2 separate regions of the Homo sapiens genome follow, and region 1 is linked to region 2. The links are contacts of gene promoters, found by promoter capture Hi-C in human tissues and cell types (Jung and others, 2019). All regions are on one chromosome and are shown on one strand. Each heading gives the region's core, a stretch centred on a gene start or on the middle of the fragment in contact. The rest is flanking DNA. Distances are from core to core; before and after follow the strand shown.

Region 1 (6,691 bases), core at 2,945-5,444, 1.1 Mb before region 2:
CATTAAATAACCTGATAATAACCTGGTTTTCCATGTAACTGCCTCTAGGAAGAAAAGTACTGTTCATGAAGACATAGGTATTTCAGTCTGCATGGTAAAAGATCTATATCTTACTACAAAATAATAAACTAGCTGGTTTATAATGTGTAAAAAAGATTTTTGAGAAATCATTGGTGGTGGTATAATATTAAGTGATATCATTCACATGGGTAGTTATTCTCATAACATCTTGTATGTAACTATAACACTTATAATGTATTAATAATTTGTTTTCAATCTTTTAATTTGGACTAGACATAACTCTTACAGAGAGAAATTGTCTTTAGGCTGGGTAGGTGACTCACATCTGTAGTCCCAACACTGTGGGAGGCTGAGGCAGGCGGATCACCTGAGGCCAGGAGTTCGAGACCAGCCTGGTCAACATGGTGAAACCCTGTCTGTACTAAAAATACAAAAAGTAGCTGGGTGTGGTGGCACACACCTGTCATCTCAGCTACTTGGGAGGCTGGGGCAGGAGAATCACTTCAACCTGGGAGGCAGAGGCTGCAGTGAGCTGAGATTGCACCACTACACACCAGCTTGGGCGACAAAGCAAGACTCCATCTCAAAAAAAAAAAAAAAAACAAAAAACCCAAAGAAATGATTTTTATTATTTTATGAAGTATATGCTTCTTAAAGAAAAATTGGAAAACACATAAAATTTTAAAGAAAATAAAAATCACCTATAATCCCACTTCTTAAAGATAGCAAAAGTTACTGTTACATTTTATTAAGCATTTTCTCCTATATATGTCATTAAACTGTGATCATACTAAAACATTATTTTCAAAAGCATTATTTTTAATGACTACAGCATATCCCACAGGTATGGATATACCTTGATTTATTTAACTACTCTTTTATTATAGGGCTTTCCAATTGTTTCTGATTTTAAATTTTAATTTAATTATTAATTAATTAATTTATTTATTTATTTTTGAGACAGAGTCTTGCTCTATCGCCCAGGTTGGAGTGCTGTGGCACAGTCTTGGGTCGTTCAACTTCCATCTCCCCAATTCAAGTGATTCTCATCCCTTAGTCCCCTGAGTAGCTGGGATTACAAGTGCCTGCCACCACACCCAGCTACTTTTTGTATTTTTAGTAGAGATGGGGTTTCACCATGTTGGTCAGGCTGATCTCAAACTCCTGTCCTCAGGTGATCCGCCAGCTTCAGCCTCCCAAAGTGCTGGGATTATAGATGTGAGCCACCGCACCTGCCTGTTCCTGATTTTTAAAATGATGAATGGAGAAACCATTTCTTAATCAGATCGTTAGCCACAGTATCTAGCACACTTAGTCACTTAATATAAAAGTATTGAATTGAAAAGTTATTTTCATCTGAGATCCTATCCTGAATAGGTTTATTAGGTTTTATTAGAAGCTTAAGAGGAATCTGACAAAATGAACTCCAGAGCACATATATTTTGGTGTGGAAGGGAGCAGTTTAAGCCTGTGCTCAGAGAGGCAACCCAGGGATGGGGAACTGCTAACAGTGTGTGGGGTGGAGCAGGGGCACATAGAAGAATTTCTAAGGTGAATGTTGACTCTGTCACAGTTTTACCTACTGACAGAAGTGTTGAACCATCCACAGTGGGTTACTTCTCCCACTCTTCTGAAGAAGGAGCTGTTTTGTCACTTGTTCTGTTTCTCTTTTAATTGCTCATAGTTGTTCCTATGAGAGCAGACATGTGCTCTTTGAATTTAATTGAACGTCTGCTTCAGAAAAACGTGACAAGGAAATATTATCTTCTTAGATTTCAGTATGTGTAAGATGGGTATAGTCGTTTACAAAAATTCCCAAATCAGAATTTTGTGACCTCTTCTAGAACATGTGATTAGCCTGGCCCAGCATGACTCTTTCCCAAGCAGGGCCAAACAGATGGAAGCTGGAAGCACCATTTTCACCCTAAAGGGATCAAGACAAGGCCCAGCAAACTGAACTAGCAATATCTAATTGTCTGGTGTTCTGATGATGCTCACATTGACCCCACCTCCAGAGTGCCTGTTACCATAACATCTGGAACTGTTATAACACTGCCTATTTTGATATGTGGCCAAAACCACTCTACTTTCAGATTGTGTGAACACTGTTGTAATACTCAATAAGCAATTAGTGGTGAAAACCCCGATTGTGGTAATATTAGTGCCTGATTTGTTTAATTTAATTAAGCATTTAATTTCCTTCTGGTGTCTTTATAAAAGAAAAACAGGGCCAGGCGCGGTGGCTCACGCCTGTAATCCCAGCACTTTGGGAGGCCGAGGCGGGTGGATCATGAGGTCAGGAGATCGAGACCATCCTGGCTAACACGGTGAAACCCCGTCTCTACTAAAAATACAAAAAATTAGCCGGGCGCGGTGGCGGGCGCCTGTAGTCCCAGCTACTCGGGAGGCTGAGGCAGGAGAATGGCGTGAACCCGGGAAGCGGAGCTTGCAGTGAGCCGAGATCGCGCCACTGCAGTCCGCAGTCCGGCCTGGGCGACAGAGCAAGACTCCGTCTCAAAAAAAAAAAAAAAAAAAAAAAAAGAAAAACAGAAGGGAGGAAAAATAATCTCAGATTATTAACTACTTTAAGCTTTTCACCTACTACCTCTTGGGCTATAGCAAATCAATAATCTTTTAAAAGCAAAACGCAAAATAAAGTAAAATAAAAATTAAATGTAAACTTTCAAAAGGCAATAAAAATATAATTTCTTTTAAAGCATGTATTAGTTTCACCATATTTCTAGAATATTGTAAAGTAATATACAATTATATAGAATACAGCATTATACAGTAATGTAATATGCTTTAGACTATCCCCCATAATATTAACAACCCATTCTTTATCAATTGATATTCATTAGTCTTGTCTGACAATGCCAAACCTATTCCCTGATCTCCAACTTACCCGTCAATGACCACTTCTGATGAGGATCTGAACACTATTGCAATAAGGCAGACAATATTATAAAATTCAAGAAACATTAAGTCACAATAGGAAGGATACAACTGAAAGGATAATGATATGGTTTGGTTGTGTCCCCACCCGAATATCATCTTGAATTTTAGTTCCCATAATCCCCACATGTTGTGAGAAGAACCCAATGGGAAGTTATTGAATCATGGGGGTGGGTTTTCCTATTCTGTTAGTGAATAAGTCTCATGAGATCTGGTGGTTTCATAAATGGGAGTTCCCCTGCACAAGCTCTCTTGCCTGCCATCATGTAAGATATAACTTTGCTCCTCCTTCACCTTCTGCCATGATTGTGAGGCCTCCTCAGCCATGTGGAACTGTGAGTCTATTAAACTTCTTTCCTGTATAAACTACCCTGTCTTAGGTATATCTTCATTAGCAACGTGAGAGCAGACTAATACAGATAATTCCTAAAATTAATTAAGATGTCAGAAAGCATTCTTGGCAAAAAGCAAGTTAGAGTGGAAACTTCTCTTTTCTTTTTAAAGATGTATCCTATGATATGGTCTTTAGTGGAAACCCATGTTTTCTATAAAAATGAAACTGATTTTTCTATATAATATTCTTGCCCATTTCTCTCCAAAATGATTTATCTGTCAGCATTCTCACAGAAGAAAAATTTGCTTTCCAAGGCAATTTCCTTTCCCTTTTTTCCCTATATTTTTGAAAAATACTTTCTTTAAAGGCTTTTCTAATTTTTTTTAGAAGGAAAGTTGGAGAAACTGAGATTAGGAGATTTTGAGTTGGCAGATGGCATAGATCATTAATTTTTTGCAATTATGTTTAATATATTAAAATAACAAAAACTGAATAGAGAATAGAAGCCCATATACTAGGGAATAAAAGCATAAAATTTCCTGTACAATAAATTATAGACAATTTGTACAGCATTTTTTTATTGATGCATATGCTAATTTGATGGTTGAGATGTTTAAATAAATTCCCTGAAAAATTTAGTACGTAGCTACATATGTGACCTGTATGAACACAAATTACCATTTTCTTCTAGCTTTCACATCAAAATTTCACATCATAATATACTATATATATTTCTATATATAGTAGAGATAGTATATGCATATACATATACTATCTCTGCTATATATAGTATAGCAGAGACAGTAGTGTGAGTCATATATCATCTCTAAAGAGCAGGATAATCTTGGTGTGAGTTAATCTTGATTTACATTTTAACTCCACTCTATAATAACCACCAGGATGTGTTATATTTTCGGTAGATAATGTTTTCTTCGGGTGGTTTTCAATGGTGACTTCTCTGAATCTGCATGGTTCTCACGTAAGATGTCATGAGGTTGTAGGGGACACTCTTCTAGTTGTAAAGGCTGTAGAAAAGGCCTGAGGGCGGATGCATATTATTGACAGGCCCCCTGTCATTGGGGAGGCACGTATTTATGGAGCCCTTACCTGTGTCAGGGCTCTCAGCCAGGAGCTGACCCTCAGCTTTAAAACAAGGTTAACAATATCACTGACATTCCAGCTGTAGCACATAGATTTTTCTCTTCCTTCCTCCAACATGCTAAATTCCCTCCCACCTTGTGTCTTTGCTCATATGCTCGGCTCAGTTTGGTAATTTCTCTCCACTCCTGATTAATACCTACTCATCTTTCAATTCTCAGCTCAGAAGTCACCTCTCCAGGGAAGTCTTCCTTTATTCCCCCAGACATATGGGATTTACGTTATTATACATGCTCATGGTACCCAGTCCTTTTCCTTTACAGCACTTAGTTTGTGAGTATTTAGTGATGGTTTGATTCATAGCTGTCTCTCTGCTAGACAGTATTAGCACCTACTACTAGTCAGTGACTAGTGCTAGTTGTGTATTATGGACCCTGTTTTTAATTCAGAAAAAAGTTAGCAAAACTTCAGAAAATGAAAGAAATTTTTCTGAAAATATTATTGAAATACTATCTTGGAAGAATAACAGAACTTGATACTAAGAGTGTGACTGGTTAATGATACACACTGCTTCCATCAAGAGAAAGTGTCTGTTCCCCTCCCTTTGATGGGCAGGCCTGTGACTGCTTTGACCAGTACAGGATAGCAGAAATCATGCCATGCTAGCTATGTGCATAGCCCCTAAAGAGCACGGCAGCTTCCACTTCTCACCTGTAGGAAGCCAACCACCAAGAAATGAGACTATTCTGGGACCACTATTCTGTGAGAATCCTGAGCCACATGAAGAAGCTCTGGAAGAAGGGACCTGTGTGGAGGGGGTGAGCTGGGGGTCAGGCTGAACAACACTGAGGCACTAGAGATGTGCGTGAGAAAGTCAGCTGGAAAGTGGTTCCCAGCTTCAGCTGCCCCAGTGGACTCCATGTGGATCAGAGACACAAGCTTTTCCCCAATTCCTAATCCACAAATCATGGTCCAAACAAAATGACTGTTTTATAAAGCCACTAGGTTTCAGAGTAGTTTTTTGTGCATCAACAATAACTGAAACAAAGAGTAAGAAAAGTAAATGCATGAGAAGAAGGAGCTGAGGAAAGATAATTCAGAGGAGAAAGTAGGTGAAGGGCAAAATAAAGAAGCGTGTAACAACTATCTTGAGGCTGGACATGGTGGCTCACGCCTGTAATCCCAGCACTTTGGGAGGTTGAGGCAGACAGATCACTTGAGTTCACGAGTTTGAGACCAGCCTGGGCAATATGGCGAAACCTGTCTGTATAAAAACACAAAAACAAAACCAAAAATTACCCGGGTGTGGTGGCGTGCACCTCTAGTCCCAGCTACTCAGGAGACTAAGGTGGGAGAATCACTTGAACCTGGGAGGTAGAGGTTGCAGTGAGCCGAGATTGTGCCATTGCACTCCAGCCTGGGTTACAGAGTGAGACCATGTCTCGAAAAAACCAAAACCAAAAACAAACGAACAAACAAACAAAACCCAACCACCTCAGAGGTAAGAGTTCAGGTAATAGGGACAGTGAGGCTTTCTCCATAAAGCCACTAGAAGTTTGGAACCTCTACTCCCACTCCACCCCAACCATTTTTGCATGATGCAGGTCCCGATATATGGAAGCCCTCTATAATTTTATAATGGTGCTGGCAAGAAAAAGAAAGTGTGGGGAAATAATCTGACAGTGTTTACATGATCTATTTTTCTAAGAGTTATGCCTATACATTGTCAAACATATTGAATTAAGTAACCTGAATTATTTAAAATGTAGGTAATTCTTACCAAAATTTAATATAAGAAGGTTCCCATTCAGCAGGGGAAGTTGGGCAATAATTTTATTGTAATGGGGTTTGACCCTAGAATGGGTAAATGAAGCTTTCCCCCAACCAATAATGGAATAGGAAAGAGGAAAGGGAGTAACCTTTGTTGAAAGTCAACTATTGCTATGCTTTGCATATCTTCTTCTTTTTCCCTCCTCCTCCCCCTTCTCCTCCTCCATCATCATGGAAGTGGCTAACGTTTGTTGAGCACTTGCTATATCTACATGCTGCAAAGCTTTACATGGATCATCTCATTAATCTTCATTACGTCATAATATATGTGTAATCTTTGTTTTACAAATGGAAAAATACTGAAGCTCTGTATGTGAAGTTAATTGACCAGGATTGTACAGATAGTAAGTAGTGGAGCCAGCATTTGAGCAAAGGGCTCCTTTGAACAAAGGGCTCCCTCAGCAGAAGGGAGACGAAGAACATATTTCATATGTTGTCTAAGTTAATTTAATT
Region 2 (6,907 bases), core at 3,940-6,439:
AAGCAAATAGATAGAATTCATTATGTATTTTCATGTGAAAGTTACACTGAGTATGCCTGCCTCTCTTGCTTCCCCTTCCACCTTCCCCACCTCTCCCATCTCTGCCACCCCCGAGATAGCAAGACCAGCCCTTCCCCTTCTTCCTTCTGCTCAGCTGACTCAACAGGAAGATGACAAGGATGAAGACACTTATGATGATCCATTTCCACTTAATGAAGAGTGAATATATTCTCTCTTCCTTAATGATTCTCTTAATAACATTTTCCTTTCTCTAGCTTACTTTATTGTAAGAATATAGTATATAAGATATATAACATAAAAATTACATGTTATTCGACTATTGATGTTATCAGTAAGGCATCCAGTCAAACTGATGTTATCAGTAAGGCATCCAATAGGCTGTTAGTAGATAAATTTTTAGGAAGTCAAAAGTTGTACATAAATTTTTGACGGCATGAGGGCCGGCACCCCTACCCCAGCATGGTTCAAGGGTCAGCTGTCGTCTGTTTATTCAAAGCAGGTTTGTTGAGACAAATAATTTTGAAAAGCATCTAGAAAAGTGCTTGGCACATCACATGTTCTCAAATAGCCTACAGATAAGCTTTAACTTTGTAGCTTGGCTCTGAAGGCTAGTCTTAATGGCAGGTAAATAACATGAATATTACCACACACCATGACAGTTCCGTGTGTATTTTGAGTAAATACTCAGATACACATGTGCAGTGCCAGAGGCTAAAACAGGATTGTTGTGGGCATTAAATTACTTGACATATGTAAAGGCCCAGCATACAGTCCAGCATATTATAGGAGCAGAGTCATGTTATATATTTACTTGTCTATAAGTTATTGTTAGGAAATGCATACATGAGTATAATTGGATGTTAATCATGGCTTGATTTTACTTGCCACTCCTGGTTGGAAAGCAGTATCTTGAAACTAAGCAACAGATGATGCCTAGAATATTGGGAGCATGCCCATAATAAGCCAGCAGGCCTACTTACCTGTGTCTCTTTGGCTGATTAGCTCATTGCCTGATAAAGTCCAGATATAGCAGGGATAATCTCCATCCAGACAAGTTAGTTCTAGGGCCTTGAACTAGAGTCCTAGTTTTCAACATATCATTTTGAAAACAATTAATGAAAAGGAAGATCAAGTAGAACCCTTTACTGAGCTCACCACCACTGATCAACACCATGATATAAACAATCCATAACTCATAGCATGTTAATCACAGTTCTGTATTGCCCTGTAACAGCAGAGGCTCCTCTCCCTATTTCTATTAGATGAATAAGCAAACTGACAGACATTTTGGCAGCCAGAAGACTTCAATATACAATTAATTCACACCTTGCCTAGTGACACCACTGGACATGGTGCCAAGTAAATTTGGCATTGCTGTAGAGTATGATGACATGTTTCCTCAGGTCTTAGTCAGATTGACTCAGATAGTTGTCTTGAGCTGGTCCTGAGCTAGCTCACTTCAAGGTGCTAGGATTGGGGGTTGGGTGGGTGAACAGAAAACTCTGGTGAAGGCTTTGGATTCAGTTTTATGCATTTTATATTATTCAAGTGAACAATTAACTATATAACATACCTTAGAGGCATATGCTTCATATAGCTGTTGTAATGTCCTTCCCAAAACACTCTTGGTGTCATTCATTAGTTGCTCACTCTTCCTCCAGCTTCTAGTTGTAGAGTCTAGGTACAGGTACTCTAACCCAGTCTCTCCACTTTCCTTGTTTTGTCTTTTAGGTAACTTATAAAAAGTAAACCTAACAGACAAAATGATTATGAATTACTAACATTTATTGACTGTTTTCCTGTGGCAGTAACTGTATTACACACTTTAATATATCTCTCATTTCTGTTTCATGGAAGGCCTCTAAGGAAAGGGATTTGCTCAAGCTCTTTGCCTCTTTCTTCACTCTTATCTTTGCTCCTCCCCAGAGAAGAAAATAAAAATCTGATTGGATATGTTCTAAGACCTTGGTTATACTGGTGGGTGGAGTCCCTGAAGTGGAAGTCCATATACATTGAGAGTGGCTCTTTCTGTTGCTTCCATGATCCATGTGGCTACAGTGGAGAGAAGGCCAAGGCCCAGACCATGCAGTTGGCTGACTGGATATGAGATTTGGGTTTGGGCTTCAGGAGAGGTGGAAGGTACTTTGAGCCCCTGTCATAAGCTGCATTCCTCAGCTCAGTTTATCCGAATACTCTGCCTTGAAGATTCAGGGCTAAAACCAAGTAATTAAGTAGGCCCTTTCCTTCCTTTACTGTTGTTTTCCATTTGTATATCTCCCTTGGATATCTCACAGGGAGGAGAGGTAGCTCAGCCAAGACAGCATTAAGGCATTATTGGATTACCTAGCTCAGCGTTTCTCAGTGTGCTCTATTCACATTTTCAGCCGATCATTCTTTGTTGTGGGAGCTGTCCTGTGCATTGTAAGATCCCTGCCCTCTACCTATTAGATGCCAGTAGCACTGCCAAGTTGTGACAATCAAAATTATCTCCAGACATTATCAAAAATCCTCTGAGGGCAAAATTACCCTCGGTTGAGAACCACTGATCTAGCCAAATACTTTCTAATAGCATGAACCCCACCATTAACCCCTAAACACTCACAGTGCACCAAACATTATAATATATACACTATTACCATACAACAGTGTCACAAACCCGTAAAAGCTGCACACTCTTCACTTGGTCCCCTTCGGTCTTATACTTAATTTAAGTGAACTCTTTCCTGCCCTGCTTATGCTTTCTTACAGGGTCAGGTCCTCACATGTGGCAGGAAACATGAAATTATTCTTTGGTGCTGACTTGATGGTCTCTTTCCTTACCTTTCTCAATAAATGTTAGCAGCTTGGCAACAAGTTGCTTATATTCTCTCTAACAGACATTGCTAAGTAATATGTCCATTCACTTGTGGCAAAAATGATTTTCCATATCAATCACAATTTGGTGGCCCACCAGTGAAGGGTTTGTGAACTATCAGTGTGCCGTGGCACACCAGTTGAGAGCTAGTACTTTTAAACATTTTTCCTGGGTGACTGTCTCTAATTATGTACTCAAGAGTCCTCAGTCTGTTTCTAGCCCAGACCTTTCTGCTGAGGTCCAGAGAAACCTAAACTCAAAGATGTCCCATTAACCCCCAACTCCGTATTTTTGAAACCAAATTTATAATATTTTGCTCCAAATCTGCTCATCCCACACTATTAGGGAACATATTCATGCAGTCTCAGAAGCAGAAGCCTAAAATTATTTCTTTCTTTTTCTTTCTTGTTTTGTTTTTTGTTTTTTTTTGAGACGGAGTCTCATTCTTGTTATTCAGGCTGGAGTGCAATGGCACGATCTTGGTTCACCACAACCTCCGCCTCCTGGGTTCAAGCAATTCTCCTGCCTCAGCCTCCCATGTAGCTGGGATTACAGGCATGCGTCACCATGCCTGGCTAATTTTGTATTTTTAGTAAAGATGGGGTTTCTCCATGTTGGTCAGGCTGGTCTTGAACTCCTGACCTCAGGTGATCTGTCTGCCTAGGCCTCCTAAAGTGCTGGGCTTACAGGCGTGAGCCACCACGCCTGGCCAACCTAAAATTATTTCTTAACATCTCCCTTTCTCCTACTGGCTGCAGCCCATCCATCACCAAGTCTTCTCAGCATGTCCTTCTTTCTATTTCCATGACCGCTTCTTTAACTCAGGTCTACACCTCTTCTCACCTGTAATGCTGCAAAAGTGCTCCTGGTCTCAGTGATTCTAGGCTGCTCCCCATCCATCCAGCCCTCATAGTACTGCCAATGGGTTTCCTAAAGTGCAAATCTGACCATTCACACCCCTGCGTGAAGTCCTCCAATAGCTCCCTTTCAATGTCAAGTTCAAACCTTGTAGCTCAGCACACAGACCCCTTGGCTGTCCCCACCTCTCTAACCTCACCTCCGGTCATCTTCCTGTATTCTCCTGAAGTTCCAGCAATACCAAACTACTTTGCAACTCCCAAATTTCCATGTTGCTTCTTGCCTCTCTACCTCCTCATTGCTCCTTCATTGGCCTGAGATGCTCTTGCACATCCCTTCTTTTTCCAGCTACTTCTTAATTGTTCTTAAAACTTAGCTCAAAAATTACATCCTTAGAGAAGTTTTCTGGGCTCTCTGTTCCCCAGTGTTCCACCTATGCCCTTACCACATAACTGTGAGGTCCTTGAGGGTAGGAACCATGTTTCGTTCATATTTATATTTTCAAAACTCCACACAGACCTCTGTTGAGCTCAGTAACTGAGGAAAGACTGACTACTGCCTTGAGTATATCTGTGTTCTGTAGCCTGAAGTTTACACAAAAAGCTTGACACCAACCATTATGGCAAACCTAAATATCCCAATTAAAGGGTGAAAAAGTAGTTAAAGCTTTAGGAGAACCCATGACTATAATGCAACACAGCATTTAATGTCTTTGACACTGTACAACAGGCCAGTGGCCTACGTACCAATCATGGCAACAGCTGCCTCTGCTTCCAAACAAACCGATGTTAGGCAAACAGTGCTGTGTGTGACCAGGTCCCCCTTCTCTTTCTCATAAGGAGCAGCACATGCTCCATTTTCAGAAAAAAATAATCTGCCTTCTTTACTCTGTCAGTCTTTCAAAGGATGTTGGAAGTGTTCTGTTAGGAAAAGCCATGATGTAATTAAAAGAAATTGCCAGCTCACAGAAGCTGTCAGCTCAATCCCACTTCTGTGGCTACCAGCCTTGCCCCGCTGAGAACAGTGAATCAGGCCCAAGAGGGGCTGCTCAGCTCTTTTTCAGGGGGAAACTCCGTCACTCAGAAGCCTACCCCTGCCTGGGAGTTTGGCCGATTTGCACACTTTAACTTCCTTTATTTGTAAAGGGAGGAAAGAGAATGGACATTCCCCTTAGGAACTTCGCAGTGAGCCAGGCCAACTCTGTACCGAGGCTGTTTGCATGCAGCAGTCCTTCCATTTCATTTACCTACCAGTCCACAGCTTTCCCTTCTTCATTTCTGCATGAAATTGTTGCTGCCCCCAGCACCCCAAAGAGGCCAAGGAAGAGCAAAGCAAAGGATGTTCTTAGCAGTCTTGCCATCATTTTCTGTTTCATTTATTTCATGCCACAGCAGGACACTTTCCCCATAGATTGTGGAGTCTGAGTTTCAAGGCGCTCTCAGGCTGTGCTGGCTCTGACGTTTGATTTGATTTACCTGTGCTGTTCGCTGTTCGGGGCATTTTCAGAGTGGGATGGATCCCATGTAATTGTGCGATTCTGTCACAACATGCCAGCGTGACTCTGGATGCCTTTGTGCTGAATTGTTGACTGGTTTGCAAAGTCATCAAAAAGTTCTGCAGAAAAATAGGGAAAGATAGTTCACTCTTTGGAGTGAACATTGTTGTATGAAATTCATTGGGCAGGGGGACTTCATTTTAATAAGTAGATGTTAAATATATTTCATGTCTTCTCCTGTTTGACTCAATGAATGAGAGCAAATGCAGGTGGTTCGTACATTAAACAGAAATGATAAAACCTTATGTCTTAGTAATAATTAGGATCTGTCACTTAATAATCTCTGTCTTAAGGAACCAGTTGCTAAGGGATACTTCAAAGGGTTGCTTCAAAGTAACAGTAAATTTAACTGTATTTTACCAAAGATGTTTACATATTCTCTCCATCTTCCTGGTTTTAGCCACTCAATGTGGTGCTTCAGGCTGCTATGCAATAGGTAAACATATTGATCACCCACTCTTCAGGTTAATAAAAAATGTTACAAACATCTATTTTGCCCAAACTATGCTTTCTCATTCTCGAAGCTGAATCTGAAGTAGAAAACCAAAATAAAATGGCCCACTACCATAACAACTATAAAAAGGTGAGACCAATTTCTTTGTGAATCAGGGAAGGAGTAGATAGACATATGAAAATAATTTCTTTAATGCATACTTTTGCATCAATTATTAAAGCTGCCATCATAATAAATAGCAGTTTACATCATGCCTGGAAATAATGCTGCCCCTAATCTGTCTCTCTGATAATCACAATGATAACTATAATAGTTCCAGATCAGAGGATCCAGACCAAACTGAACCCTTGTAAATCAGATTACCTCTGTGGTTGCACTAGAACTGTTCACAATTCTCAGGATTCATAGAAAAGGGGAAGGCTTGTGTCTCTATCCTAAGACAGAGTTTTGGGAGGAGGACTCTGTACCACCTGCCCAATTACCTGTGGTGCCTGCAAAAAAGGCAGAATTCTAGGACTTATTCCAAACCTGCTACATCAGAATTCTTCCAGTTGGGCTCAAGAATCTATATTTTTAATAAGCTTATTGGTGATGCTGGTGTACCCTAAAGTTTGAAACTCACTGCCCTGAGGCCAAGACTATGCTGTATTTGGTAGATTCACAGCTTTCTGCAGGTTAAATGAAGAAATATTTTTCTTACCCATTCCTCCATTGGTATTATTATTATTATTATTTTGAGATGAAGTTTTGCTCTTGTTGCCCAGGCTGGAGTGTACCCACCTCGGCCTGGGAATCCATCCACCTCGGCCTCCCAAAGTGCTGGGATTACAGGCATGAACCACTGTGCCTGTTCTCATTTTGTTTTATATATTTTCTTCCTGTGTTCAGAAAAAAGGATTTCAACAACCCCAACCTTTTTGTCAATTTTTAAAAGTTTTTTTAAAAATTATCAGCTGGACGCAGTGGCTTATGCCTGTAATCCCAAAACTTTGGGAGGCTAAGGCAGGAGGATTGCTTGAGCCTGGGAGTTCAAGACCAGCCGGGGCAACATAGCAAGAATGTATCTCTACAAACAATAAAAAAAAAATTAGTCGGGCATAGTGGCACATGCCTGTAGTCCCAGCTGTTCAGGAGGCTGAGGTGGGAGGATTGCTTGAGCCCAGGA

The links. The method cuts DNA at HindIII sites, captures the fragments that hold promoters and counts their contacts. A contact is called where the count stands out against the background at its distance.
Region 1: a contact is called between a fragment that was not itself captured here and the fragment with the promoter of DNASE2B in region 2, in 1 of the 25 tissues and cell types used here (pancreas).

The regions. Positions count from the first base shown.
Region 1 is chr1:85,475,031-85,481,721 of GRCh38, reverse strand. It overlaps a transcript of DDAH1 not described here. Among named protein-coding and RNA genes, the nearest start is that of DDAH1, 13 kb to the right of the region's middle. The HindIII fragment of the contact is 4,355 bases long and covers 2,017-6,371 here.
Region 2 is chr1:84,396,766-84,403,672 of GRCh38, reverse strand. DNASE2B (deoxyribonuclease 2 beta) reads right to left here and starts at 5,189. Exons shown (of 6, transcript NM_021233.3): 1 at 4,984-5,189; 2 at 1,595-1,772. The coding sequence starts at 5,108. The HindIII fragment of the contact is 7,255 bases long and covers 2,470-6,907 here.